2 separate regions of the Homo sapiens genome follow, and region 2 is linked to region 1. The links are contacts of gene promoters, found by promoter capture Hi-C in human tissues and cell types (Jung and others, 2019). All regions are on one chromosome and are shown on one strand. The core of a region is centred on a gene start or on the middle of the fragment in contact, and the rest is flanking DNA. Distances in the headings are between cores, read along the strand shown. Region 1 holds the start of EZR (ezrin). Region 2 overlaps IGF2R (insulin like growth factor 2 receptor).

What was found. Contacts are between HindIII fragments. The study calls those that stand out against the background at their distance.
Region 2: a contact is called between a fragment that was not itself captured here and the fragment with the promoter of EZR in region 1, in 1 of the 25 tissues and cell types used here (hippocampus).

Annotation. Positions count from the first base shown.
Region 1 is chr6:158,814,748-158,821,884 of GRCh38, forward strand. EZR (ezrin) reads right to left here and starts at 4,621. Exons shown (of 14, transcript NM_001111077.2): 1 at 4,570-4,621; 2 at 3,335-3,419. The coding sequence starts at 3,346. EZR-AS1 (EZR antisense RNA 1) reads left to right here and starts at 3,232. Exons shown (of 3, transcript NR_102425.1): 1 at 3,232-3,358; 2 at 5,725-5,846. RefSeq lists silencers at 1,298-1,357, 3,465-3,664, 3,805-4,794, 4,855-4,904 and enhancers at 1,640-1,689, 2,553-2,722, 3,205-3,254, 6,776-6,875. The HindIII fragment of the contact is 16,325 bases long and covers 1-7,137 here.
Region 2 is chr6:159,982,348-159,989,484 of GRCh38, forward strand. All of the region lies in intron 1 of IGF2R (insulin like growth factor 2 receptor), which reads left to right. Among named protein-coding and RNA genes, the nearest start is that of IGF2R, 17 kb to the left of the region's middle. RefSeq lists enhancers at 732-971, 5,149-5,723 and silencers at 850-1,144, 2,150-2,444. The HindIII fragment of the contact is 7,078 bases long and covers 4-7,081 here.

The DNA of each region.
Region 1 (7,137 bases), core at 3,371-5,870:
GACCAGGATAGTCTTGATCTCTTGACCTTGTGATCCGCCCACCTCGGCCTCCCAAAGTGCTGGGATTACTGCCATGAGCCACTGTGTACCGCCTCAGTCTTTTAAGTAACTGTTGCTTTTGGGAAACAGTATTAGGAGAAAACACAGGAAATGAGTATTTTCAGTTATACTGTTTTATGAATAAAGTCATCCACTCACTCAGTTCAGGCAAATCAATCAAAAATACTTTGCCCGTTGAATTCAAGGGTTAACAGTTGCAATGAATCAGGTGGAAGGCCAACTACTCAGAGGTATCCATCCTTTAAGTGTGTTTGCCCCTTAATCCAGTTGTTAAACATTAAGCCCAAGAAAACCACCTAACATTCTTCGCTAACATTCTTAACTTAGGCTTGAATAATTAGAATCAATAAACCTTTGTTTAAAGGACACATCCACAGAGCTGTTGGTGGATGTTTCATTTTAACATTTACTAAGGCAGCAAAAAAACCCCAAACCAAACCAAAACTAACTGGATCCTCTCTAACAGCCTTAAGAAATGTCATATTCAAATATGTGCAACCTACGATGCTCTTCTCAGTGATTTGTGGGATGGCTCTAATATAATTTACACACAGAAAGGCTTAGTGTGTTTAACTTATCTCTAAGACCCTCCTCTGCCAAAGAGGGGGCAGGGAGAAATTTCCCATGGCAGACAGGTATGGCTGACCTAAAAGGAAGCCTCTCAAAAAAGGGGTTTTGTTTGTTTTCAGACAACATCTCACTCTGCTGCCCAGGCTGGAATGCAGTGGCTTGATCTTAGTTCACTGCAGCCTTGACCTCCAGGGCTCATCAAGCAATCCTCCCACTTCAGCCTCAGTCAGAGCGCCAGCCACCACACCCAGATAATTTTTCTATTTTTTGTAGAAACAGAGTCTATGTTGGCCAGGCAAGTCTCGAACTCCTGGGCTCATGTGATCTGCCTGCCTCAGCCTCCCAAAGTGCTGGGATTACAGGCTCGTGCCTGTAATCAGGCCACCTCGCCTGGCCTCAAAAAAAGTTTAAAAATTTTAATTGTAGATATTATACAGAATACAGTCTTTCAAAGAGTAACTCTGGCTCTAATACACAAGGTGATGGCTACTGTCTTTCCTTAACAGTTTCACAACTATCTTCACTTTATCAAATGTCAGAAACATCTTTTAAGTTCTGATCTATCATAAAAGACCTCTAAAACAAAATGAAATGAAAACATACCTGCCATAAGAAATAAGAGAGAGAAGGGAGTTCTGACATTGCAACATGGATGAACCTTGAAGACATTATGCTACAGGAAATGAGACTGTCACAAAAGGACAAATGCTATCACGATTCCACCTGCATGAGGTATCTAAAGTTGTCGAATTCATAGAGACAGAAAGTAGAATGGTGGTTGCCAAGGGCTGGTGGTGGGGATGGGGAGGGAGAGTTTAATAGGTACAGAGTTTCAATCTGGGAAGATAAAGTTCTGGAGATGGACCTTGGTGATGGCTATGTAACAATGTAAATGTACTTAATACCTTGAAATGTAAACCTAAAAGTAAGAGGATAAACTGTATATTTTACCAAAATACAAAAAAGAAACCATAAAAATAAATTACCATTCATTATGAGAAATGAGAAAGAAAAGTAGTGACGGAGAACAGGTTAACTTTTTCCTGAGTGCTATCTTAGCTGAGCTCTGCACCTCTTCTTTTAGTGAAATAAAGAAAACCACACCCAGAAGGGTAATCTTCTTGACCACTCCTCCGCATACCGTTGCACTCAGCTCTGCCTGAGTAAGGGGTTGTACTTAGGTCAGTTTCATACCACATGCACTGTCAAGCCTCGATGTCACGTGTCACTTTTAAGTTTGAATTAAAAAGAAAAATTTTGTATAGAAAATACTCTGCATCACAAATGAATCATCTTGATGTAACTTAGGCAAAAATTATATTGGCTTCTGAATCTACTGGCATATTAATTCTTTATCCTAACAGCAAAATTAATACCTCTAACAAAGATCTTAGAGAACATAAAATGTAACAGAAGAAGCACACAAGGCCGGGTGTGGTGGCTCACGCCTGTAATCCTAGCATTTTGGGAGGTCGAGGTAGGCAGATCACCTGAGGTCAGGAGTTTTAGACCAGCCTGGCCAACATGGTGAAACCCCCTCTCTATAAAAATACAAAAACCAGCTGGGCATGGTGGCACATGCCTGTAATCCCAACTACTCGGGAGGCTGAGGCAGGAGATTCGCTTGAACCTGAGAGGCAGAGGTTGCAGTGAGCCGAGATCATGCCACTGCACTCCAGCCTGGGCCACAGAGAGAGACTCCGCTCCCCCATCCCCCACAAAAGGCACACAAGCATTGATTACAGAACCAACTTGTTTGAAAAACCAAAAAAAAATTCCAGATGTATCTGTAATCCCAATTTGTAATGAATCCTGATATTTTGTCCATTGTGATTCAAAACTCAAAAAATGTTAAACCTTCCCCCTAATGTCTAGTCACCAGTTCCCCAGTGTTAAAAGCAGGTAGAATACATACAACTTTCTAAGAAGCGTCAGTCCCAGAGAACCTGCCTTGTGCCTACAACCCCCAGGTCTCGCCAGCAATCTCAACACAATCAGATTCAAGGAGACAGAGGCGCAGGCACAGCCCTTTCATCAGCTGACCAGGAGTGCTCGGCCCGGCCTGCCAGGAACCTCTTATCAAACTCCACCGGCTGCCTGCATCTACAATTCAAGTCCATGGCTAACCTTCTGTTAGAGACAGAAATTCTGCTGCAGCCAGCAAGTTTGCTGGTGTACAGGGCACCGCTTCATGGGCCTAGTAGGAAGCGAAGCTGAAAGGCAACTTCCGAAAGCCAGTCTCCTCTCCCAAACGCCCTTTAATATCTCCCCAGTTGGATCTGGGGCGCCTGTGGTTTCGGACCCTTAGGAGCTCTGAGAACTGGTGTGTGTGGTCGGAAGCCATCTGAGTCTCCCTGTGATTTGGACTTTTTAAGAAACTTCTAAGTTGTATTACTATACCCTTTAAAAACAGACGGAAGCAGTGTAAAAAGGCCTCTAGTTTTTAGAAAAGACCGTAACTACTGGGGAGGGGGCTCACAAAGAAAAAGACTGCAGAGAAAAGCATCAAAATGGTGTTTTCCTAACGCTCCACAAAAGGGTCAACAAGTAACAAAGAGCGGCGAAAACCTCCTCCTATTCCTATCGTCTTCTGCGTGTGAGAAGAACCCTGTTCCCCAGGAACTGCCCCAACACCTCGAGCAGGTGCCTCCCCTCTCCAATGAAGCCTCTCCCGTCCGCCCGGCCCAGAAACTGGGCAACTTACTGGTTTCGGCATTTTCGGTTTCTGGTGAGTATCCTCGATCCCCGAAAACACGACTATCCAGCAGCAGCGAAGACGCTGTCCCAACCTGGAGTCAGAGCAGAACCCTTAGAGCGCCCGCCCGCCCTGCCTCGTCCTCCTGCCGCGCCCGACACTCGGCGCCCGCAGCGCGCTGCCGCTTAAGAACCGGCCAGCCCGGGCCCGGGTGAGTCAGCGCCCCGCCCAGCACTGCGGGCATGGGGAGGGGGCACGGGCGGGGCGGGGCCGGGCCGGGCCCCCGGCGAGGAGGCGCCCGAGAGCGGGGGCGCGCGCCCAAGGGGCAGCCGGCGGGCACTGGAGGTGCCCCCCAGTTGGGGGTGGGTCCGAGGAGAGGGGGTGCGCACCCAGGGGACCCCCAGCATGAAGGGGCTGGTGGGGGGCGCAGGCCCGGGAGAGAGAGGGCAGGGGGAACACTCAGTGGGGAGGATCGGGGGGAGGGGGCGCGGGCCCCGGGGAACACTCGGCCAGGAGGGTCAGGGGAGAGAGCGCCGGCCGGGCGGGGAGGGGTCTGGGGGACACTCGAGGTGCACCCAGCGGAGAGAGGCGGAGAAGAGGGGGCGCGGGCCCAGGGATACCCGGCGGGGAAAGGCCCGGGGAGAGGGAGCGCGCGCCTGGGAGAGAGAGGGCGAGGGGCAGGAGGAACACCTAGGAGGAAGGAGTCCCGGGACAGCCAGCGCGAGCCCGCGGGGCACCCGACAGGGAGGGGTCAGGGGAGAGGGGGCACAGGGCGGGCGGGGGGGCACTCGCTGGGGAGGGATCCGTGGAGAGGGGGCGCGGGCTCGGGGTCCGCCGAGGAACTTCCCGGGGCTGCCAGGAAGCCCGTGAGAAGCCGAGCACTCGGCAAGTTTCACTTTGTGTAGCAACCGTTGCCCCGCGGCTGCAGTCACAACCGTCAAGCCTTTGAGAAACTCTTTCAAAAACTGCAACCGCTCGGGAGCCGCCGAGGGACGGCGCCCAGGCACCCAGGCTCCGCGTTTCCTTCGGGAGAGACCTGAGGGGACCCGGCGCCGAGGGGAAGGTCGCGGGGCCGCGGGCCGGCTCAGCTCCACCTGCCCCGGGGGTGCCGGGCGAGAACCCCGCGCCGCGCCCCCTAGGCTGCCCGCCGCACCTGCCGCCGAACCCCGCCGCCCGCCCGGGCCCTCCACCAGGAACCCCCCGCCCAGAACCCCCGTCCCGACCCCGGCCGCCGCACGCCTCACCCGGCGCCTGCAGTGCTCCGTGTGCTCCCCGCCGCCCTTGCGTCCGCCGAGTGCGCTCGCTGCCCGCGCTCCCAAAAGCCCCGGCGGGGCGGGTCCCGGGACCACGCCCCTTCCCGCCCAGCTCCCGACCTGTGAGGTGCGCCCCCCGCAAGATGGCGGCAGCCGGGCCTCGGGCTGGGTGGGGGCGGAACTTGGCGGAAGTGCGCGCTACTCCCCTCGCAGATGCAAGTGGGGAGGCTGTTTGTCCCACAGCGGGCAGGGGGAAGTCAGGAAAACGTAAATAAATCTGGAGGGGCGGACGGCTTGGGGGAATCGCTGGACCGCTTGGGGCCGGGACCGGGGGCCAGTTCCGAGGCCTCGGCCCTGGGGCGGCTGCACCTGGCCCCGAGTCTCGGTGCACGTGGCCGGCCCAGCCGCCGCCTTTCCGAAGCTCTGGTTAAGTGGCACGTTTGTGGCCTCTTTTGACGTGACTGGCAAAAAGCTCCATGGGATTTCTCTGAAATTCTAGGAATTAAGTTTTTTTGTTTGTTTTTTTGCTAATGGTTCTCAACAAATTTTTAAGACACACAAAACACATACTTTGGGGGCCAGTAGAATTTGCTGCGGGAGAGCTCACTCTAGAAGGGGTTCTCAACGTCTGGCTTCCAGACGAGCAGCAACAGCATTCACTGGGAACTTGCATAAGTGGAAATTAGGTGTTGCTCAGCCTTAGGATTCAGAAACTCTAGGGCTGAGCCCAGCAATCAGTGTGTTACAAGCCCTTCGGGTGATTGTGATGTTGGCTAAAGGTTGAGACCAGAGCTTCTCCTGAATTCCTCTCCTGGGTTTACTCCTCCCTTTCTGCTTTTAGTTTTCTTGTTTGTAAAGCGGCATAATTATGGCACCTGTATCAGAGGGTTCTAATGAGGATAATGAGTTAGTACATGTACGATGCCTGGAACAGTACCTGACACTTAGTAAGCACTTAAATCTATCCTGGTAGAAAGAGAAACCAATGACTTTGGGCGAAGTTCCAAACTCTGTTTCCCAATTTGTTGAGTGAACATACTAGTAGCCCCACCTACATAGACTTGTAAGGATTAAATGAGATCGTGCATGTGGAATGCTTAACTCGTGCTAGCCTCATAGTAATTGATGCTTAACCTGTCTTCCTAGGGACACACTGCTGTTTGGGCAACCCTTTGTCAGGGCCTGTTATCTCCCACTTGCAGATCCAGGGCATTTCAGAGGTCAGAGAGAGGAGGGAGGCCTCTTCTGAGATTTTGACCTCTATTCAGGTAAGTGTATTCCCTCTGAAAGACTGAACTTTTCTTTCCCTTTTTTTTTTAGACGGAGTTTTGCTCTTCTTGCCCAGGCTGGAGTGCATTGGCGCAATCTCAGCTCATTGCAACCTCCATCTCCCAGGTTCAAGCAATTCTCCTGCCTCAGCCTCTTGAGTAGCTGGGATTACAGACACCCGCCACCAAGCCCAGCTAAATTTTTGTATTTTTAGTAGAGACGGGGTTTCACCATGTTGGCCAGGCTGGTTTTGAACTCCTGACCTCAGGTGATCTGCTCACCTCGGCCTCCCAAAGTGCTAGGATTACAGGCGTGAGCCATCACTCCTGGCCTGAATTTCTTTTTTATTAAAATGAAGTTATAGGCCGGGCGCTGTGGCTCATGCCTGTAATCCCAGCACTTTGGGAGGCCGAGGCAGGTGGAACACCTGAGGTCAGGAGTTCAAGACCAGCCTGACCAACATGGAGAAACCCCGTCTCTACTAAAAATACAGAATTAGCTGGGTGTGGTGGCGCACGCCTGTAGTCCCAGCTACTCGGGAAGCTGAGGCAGGAGAATGGTGTGAACCCGGGAGGCAGAGCTTGCAGTGAGCTAAGATCGCACCATTGCACTCCAGCCTGGGCAACAAGAGTGAAACTCCGTCTCAAAAATAAATAAATAAATAAATAAAATGAAGATATAATGGTAACTGCAGTAGAAAGAAAACTATGAAAGATATTTAAATTACCTGCACTGATAATGTTTCCAACTGGACATCAATACCTCCACTGCCTTATCACTGCCTGGAGCCTGGTTAGCCAGTTTGGGTTCCCAACTCTCATAATAGGATATGCCTCTAATCTAATTTTTATCTCGCTCCATTTGAAGTATACTGTCTTCTAAATTGAATGTTTGAAATAGCGGTGCCCCAAGACCTTGAAGAGCATTTCTGAACTTTACCCTTTAGGGGAATGCCAAAAAATGAAGTGGCCTGTGGCAGTGTGGTAAAAATGAAACGGCCAGGTGCGATGATTCAAGCCTGTAATCCCAGCACTTTGGGAGGCTGAGGCGAGCAGATCACCTGAGGTCAGGAGTTCGAGACCAGCCTGGCCAACGTGGGGAAACCCCATCTCTACTAAAAATACAAAAAATTAGATGGGCATGGTGGTGCACGCCTGTAACCCCAGCTACTCGGGAGCCTGAAGCAGGAGAATCACTTGAAACCAACCGTGAGGCAGAGGTTGCAGTGAGCTGAGATCGCACCATTGCATTCTAGCCTGGGCAACAACAGCGAAACTCTGTCTCAAAAAA
Region 2 (7,137 bases), core at 2,293-4,792, 1.2 Mb after region 1:
GTGATTTCTTGAATACTCTGTTAGAGGACTTGCGTGCATGTCGAAAGTAGGAGAATCTTTTTTGGATGTTCAGGTTGGAAACACTTCACATTCTCTTTGTCTCCAACATGTTAGATTTGTTGCTTGCTGTAGACTCAGAGAAACATTTCTCTAGCTAGTGACCATGTATCTTGTTATGTGAATTTCACTTATGTGTCACCAACTGGGTTTCTGTCTTTTAAGGAAACCAAATTACAGATTCACACGTGCCTACTTTTATTATTACTGATCCCATCCTGCCTTTATCTTGCTTTATTAATTGCAGGCCAGTAGTAAAATGTTTAATAGTTACATGACCATTAGCATAACCCCAAGATTCACAGGGACTGAGGAAACTAAGATATATTTTAAAAGAGTTTGGATATATGGCAATAAATGAGGAAGGGACAGAGTGATACTTCATGGAGATGTTTTGTGTTGAAGGGAAGGAACCCAGTTTTCTAAGATTTATTTTCTTTAAGAGATTGAGCATACCATATATTTTGATCATAGAATTTTACATACTTTAGATGCTAGCTGTTTTTAAAAGGAAAGAACTCCAAATTACATCTTGCAAGCTATTGTGGTTTTGCAAGCATTGAGTGATGGCATATATGAAAACTCTGAGAGGTGTCATATTAAGATACCAATGTCAGTTTAAAGATATTCTATATCTGTATCCCTATGACATTGTATTTTGAATTTTTTATTTTTCATTTTTGGACAGACATTTAGAACTCACTCAGTGGAGATGGCTCTGCATCTCTGTTTTAAGCTTTTTGAACTCTAGGCAGCTGTGTCGGCCTGGGGCTACATTGACTTCTTCATTGCAGCCCCTCGATTGGTTTCGTCTGGACCAGGGTGGGTTTCGATTGCGGCCCTTGCTGGAACAGTAGCAGGAAAGTAGAAACACCTTCCTGTCTCTGGGTTAACCAGCTGACAGTCTGTTACTTGTGTGCTTCCTTCTAATTGGTAATCTGCCAACACCTTTCAGGATATTATGAAATTTCAAGCAAATGAGGTTAAAATGGAACCTCTGTACTTCTGAACAGGCGTGGACTGACTGCAGTTCTCCAGGATAGTTTCAGCAGAAGCAGTGAGATTACAGTCAGGAGCAAAACAGTATCTGAGCTTTCTTTATGGGAAAGATTCCGACTGTGTGCTTGGTTTATATGGTTAAATTAATTGCCCTTGTTAAATTAAAAAAATAGGGTATGTTTCTGCCACAGACTTTGCTTTAAAAGCAGAGATCTTCTAAAGTCATTTGCCTTGTATTTGACTTCTGCTGCTCCCCGTTTCCTGCTGGGCCTGATGGTTTGATTGTAGAATGTTTCTGAGTTGTGTCACTGTTGGACTCTGCTGAGCTGAGTAGTCTCATTAAAGGAGAGTGTGCATCTGAGTTGAGGAAGACAATATAGATGTGGACCTTGTTTGTAGAGTTCACAAGCTGCTTACATAGAAATAGCAAGGACAGTGCAGCCAGTGGGAAGGAGCCGGCTGAGGGACTTGATATTATTTCCATGGAAACCAGTTGGGTATGGGAAGAGAGGTTGTGGAAGGCAATGCTCTGGTGTTTGGCAATTCACACTGTGCAGAAGAGAAAGCAGAACTGGACTGGGAGTATAGAGTAGCAGAAGTTTAAGCTTGGGGAAGAAGTTGAGCAAGGAAAAGCATATGATCTGTTGATCAGCATGATGTGATGTGGTCTGAATCTTCAGACAGTTCACAGCTTTTTCATAGAGGCTGTCCTCAGATGGGTTCAACCATTCTGAGAATTCTGCCTTTACGATATAAGTAGTATCCATGACATTAAAAACGAGAAGAGAAGCGTTTTGGCCAATGACGGACTGCATAAACTACAGTCTGCATAAATGACCTTGGTCCTAGAAGATTAGGATGAAGCTGAACAATTCTTATCACCTAGTGATGCTGTAGCCATTGTAATGTCGTAGCACAATGCATTAGTCACATGTTTGTGGTAATACTGCTGTAAACGAACCCACTGCGCTACCAGTCTTATGAAAGCGTCCAGTCAGGTCCTAGGCCTTTAGGTCCACTCACTCACTGACTCACCCAGAGCCGCTTCCAGTCCTGCAGGCTCCATTCATTATAAGTGCCCTAGGCAAGTGTGCCATTTTAATCCTTTATACCATATCTTTGCTGCACCTTTTCTACGTTTAGATATGTGTCACATGTTACAGTTGCCTGGGGTATTCAGTGCAGCGTCATGCTGTGTGGGTTTGTAGCCTGGGAACAATAGGACATACCATATAGCCTAGGTTTGTAGTAGGCGACACCATCTATGTGTGTGCAGATACACTCGATGATGTTTGAGCAGTGACAGAATTGCCTCATGACACATTTCTGATGACGTATCGCCATTAAGTGAGTGACTATAAACCAGTCCCCCCATCAGCAGTTACACTTCCTGAGGTTTCAGTTACCCATGGTCACTTGCAGTCTGAAAATATGAAGATATTTTGAGAGAGAGATGCCACATTCACATACCTTTTATTACAGTTATAATTGTGCTATTTTATTATTAGTTGTTAATCTTTTACAACTAATTTATAAATTAAACTTAATCATGGGTATGTATGTAAAGGAAAAACCATATCCGAAACCGTATTCCTGGTTCCAGGCCTCTACTGGGGGTCTTGTATCTGTGATTACAAGGTGCTGCGAAGGGATAACTGTAATTTTTCTATATGACTAGCATTTTATTGAATCAAGTTGTGTAGATGGTTGGCAATATAATAGGAACTCAGAGATCTTTATGCCATACAGAGTCTGTCCTTTTAATGGCATTTATTGTGACAAGATTTAAACTAAAGTTTTGTGGAATGTTTTGCCAGTTTTTGTGTTGTAACTGAAACTAAATGTTTTCTGAAAAGTTAAAACCATTTCTTTAAATGGAAAATAAATGAAGCCGTTTACCTAATTGGTTAAGGACTCACCCGTGGGCCTCACACCGCCTAGGTTAATTCTTCACTTTATAATTCCGTGATGTTGGGCAAGTTCCTCATTCTGAGCCTTGGGATATTTGGCTTCAAAGCTGAGGAACTTGGGAGGGTTGGATAATGGCATCACGTTCTGTGGGGAGATTTGGCTCACATGTTAGCTGTGTGGGTGAGAGCCGTGCTGTCATGCGTTCTTAGCCACTGGCCAGTTTCCTTCTCAAGCCATCAGTAGAGATGCTGATCCTGCATCTGCCAGTCATTGCTCCAGGAGGGAAGACATTACTGTCCCAGAGTGACGGTGTCATTGGGGATAACAGACACTTCAGAAAATGCCACCACTGAGCTGTATGAAGTGCCATGGCAGCTAGTGCTGGAGCTGTGGATTCAGCCGGGGAGCACTGTCTGGAGGAGCTGCTGCAGCACATGTGTGTCTCTCCAGCTGTCAGGCTGGCCTTTGGAGTGCATTTGGATTTTTTGAGAATGAGAGAGGGACCATTGGCTAACTGTTTTACGCTCTGAAAAATGACATAGAATAGCAAAGATTTTACTTATTTTTGCTGATTTTCTAGAACATTTTCTGTCCCAGAGTGATGGTTTTGAAGAACCAGCGTTCTTGGAAAGATGGTTTTGCATCCAGAAGAGTGATTTTAACTAAAATCAGGCTGCCTCCCTTGAGGATGGTCACTGAATTTTGTACAACTGGGACAACGGACAGGGATCCTGGGTTGTTTCCAGTGGACAAGCCGCTTCTGTGGGGGCCTTTGCAGTTCTCCCCGCTCCTCTCCTGTGTCCCGCTGGTTTCCTTCAGTTGAGATGGAATACAGCATAGAGTCAGTGACTTTTAGAAGACTTGACAGAGTTTCAGGAAAATGCTCACTGGGCTTTCTTACCTATCCTGCTGCAGAACTTTTTTTTTTTTTTTTTGAGATGGAGTCTCACTCTGTCACCCAGTCTGGAGTGCAGTGGTGCGATCTCGGCTCACTGCAACCTCCACCTCCTGGATTCAAGCTATTCTCGTGCCTCAGCCTCCCGAGTAGTTGGGACTATAAGCGTGCGCGACCATGCCTGGCTAATTTTTGTGTGTGTGTGTGTGTGTGTGTGTGTGTTTTTTTTTTTTTTTTAAGTAGATTCAGGGTTTCACCATGTTGGCCAGGCTGGTCTCGAACTCCTGACCTCAAGTGATCCTCCCACCTTGGCCTCCCAAAGTGCTGTGATTACAGGCATGTGCCACTGCGCATGGCCTGAAGTTCTTTCTTTCAGAAAATGTATTCAACACATTCTTTTGTGTGTGTTTGAGTGAAGACGGTGTTTCCACACAGCTTGCAGATACTTTCTTCCAGAAGCTTGTTTGTTGCTAACATTTAACATCTTACTGTTACAGCTTAGTTTTCTCTTTGATTGAATATATTGATCTCTTTTTTTTTTTTTCTGTTGGCTTTTTTCTTAAGTCTTTACTTGTGTAAGCTCAGATAACTTAGTCTAGAATGTAGGCTTTTTCTGGGAATCTCAGCTGAATGGTTTCATTTGCTTGGCTGTTAAATGAACCATACTGTTTGGAATAGTTTCCTAATTCTGGCTGTACATGTTCACTTCAGGTAGAGAATTTTCTAACAGACAAACTTTCAGACAAAAAATTTATTATTCCTCAAAGATATCATTACATTTTATTTAGTCTGTAATAATTTTATTGCTTCTGAAACCATTTTCTAGTTCTATAATGTGATCATGGTGCTTTTAAACTTTAATATCAAGTTAATTTTAAGAATGATTTTAGCTTAGGCCATTCTAGGGGCTTGGCCTTTAATCTGAAAAGAAATTTAGAATCCTTTAGTTTCAAACATGTGATTTCTTAAAACTTGTTGTCAGTTATTTATACGATTTTCAAGTTTATTATGAAATAGTCTTTAAAAAATATTTACTTTAGTGGAAACATATCTAGTGATAGTTTAACCAGGGTGCATACCAGAGTACATAATAGTTTTTGGAATATTCTTCATAAATTTTCAGAGAGATTATTTAAACCACATGACTGTTTCTGAGCTCCTGTTGATACTAGGGGCTAGGCATATTCGTTTTTTCTTTTTGAGACAGAGTCTCGCTGTGTTGCCCAGGCTGGAGTGCAGTGGCACAATCTCAGCTCACTGCAACCTCTACCTCCCAGGTTCAAGCGATACTCCTGCCTCAGCCTCCCTAGTAGCTGGGACTATAGGCGTGCACCACCACGCCCGGCTAATTTTTGTATTTTTAGTAGAGACGGAGTTTCACCATACTGGTCAGGCTGATCTTGATCTCCTGACCTCGTGATCTGCATGCCTCAGCCTCCCAAAGTGCTGGGATTACAGGCATGAGGCACCACGCCCTGCCATTAGTTTGTTTTAAAGGAGACATAATGTCCGTTGAAACATCAGAATGTTTTAAGTACTGACAGCTTGCAGGTGTCTTTGGAGTGAAGTTTAGAAACCTGCTGTGACCATTCTTCATTTTAAAGCTGTGACTAAGAACTCTGAGATATTGGTGCCTTCGCCTCAAGTGCTGCTGATGGGTTTGAATGGCATTGAGGTTGCCAGGCCTGGAGGAGGGCTGCCTTGTGCTGAGTGGTTAAATCACCCCCCTGAAAAAAGTCAGTGTTTCAAGTATTTTAATAGGCTCCTCCTTTCCTACTCCCATAACCACTTACATTTGATAAATCTTGACAAAACAAGTATGAAATCCAAGTAGAGAAAATAATATAATTGAATAGAGCAACACTTTTCTTTCTAGCAACCCTGATTTCCAGATTATCAGGACAATATCCCTCATTTTATTCTTTTTTAAATCTTGATTCTGCTCCCCAAGCAAACACACTCTTTACCTTATTTAGATATCCCCTTTGCAAGAATGGTGGATTTCTTTTAAGAAAAGCATAGCAGGCCGGGCGCGGTGGCTCACGCCTGTAATCCCAGCACTTTGGGAAGCTGAGGCAGGCGGATCACGAGATCAGGAGATTAAGACCATCCTGGCTAACATGGTGAAACCCTATCTCTACTAAAAATACAAAACATTAGCTGGGTGTGGTGGTGGGTGCCTGTAGTGCCAGCTACGGGAGGCTGAGGCAGGAGAATGGCGTGAACCCGGGAGGTGGAGCTTGCAATGAGCGGAGATTGCGCCACTGCACTCCAGCCTGGGCGACAGAGTGAGACTCCGTCTCAAAAAAAAAAAAAAAAAAAAAAAAGAAAAGCATAGCATTTTAGGTACGTGTGGATCTCTTTAGCGTTGATTCCTACCAGTTAACTCATTTTAAATGACACCCTCATGCACCAATATCATATACTTAGGATTGTGAAATAGTTTAATGATGCCACTGCCGCTACTTGAAGTTTGTCTCTGTTATCCTGGAGAAACTAGTCATGGCTCCTGAATAAGAGATTAGCATTTTTCCTGAGTAGTAGCCAAGTCTTTGTTTACTTGTTTATCTTGTATCCTGCAACCTGGAATATACACTCCGAGAGGGCAGGGCGTCTTTGTTTTGTTCATTGCTGTACTCTCCTGTGCCTCCCGCAGTAAGTACTTAAGAAATACTTGTGAAACACATGAATAAAGGTTAACGAAGGGCAAAGGAAACAAGCCTTTATTGATGATTTTTCTCTGTGCCCAGTAATACTTGGGTTATTTTCTCATGTCCTTGAGTCATCTTGACTCTAGGAGACACCTCTTAACATGTTCCTGCTGAAAAAGCTGAGCTGAGGAGTCATACCCCGAGGGTATCACCCTAAGATTGGGCACCTGAGTACCCCAGCCTGCTCTTCAGGTCTGTAGCTGCTTAGTGGCTATCAGACCTTCCAAGTCTCCATGCTTTTGAAGGCCTATGTGTGCGGTTTGGTTTCTTGGCAGGGGGGTTTGATGGGTTCCCAGACCTAGGAGTTCTTGGCGCCTCGTCTTCCAGTGACCCCACCAGGGCTGCTCTTTCTCCTCCATTGCTGAAACTAGTTCAGGGTTGGGGAGGAGGGCACGTGGGGGGGCCTGGTGGTTGGTTTTGTGCTGAGTCATTGCCTTGGTGCACTGTGGAAGGAAGCTCTGGGAGGTGGACGGCTCCTTCTGTGAGGGAGTGCTTCTGTCGTCAAGGGAGTACTGCATAGGGTGAATAACACAGTTATGTAGATATATATGGTGGTCTTACCCC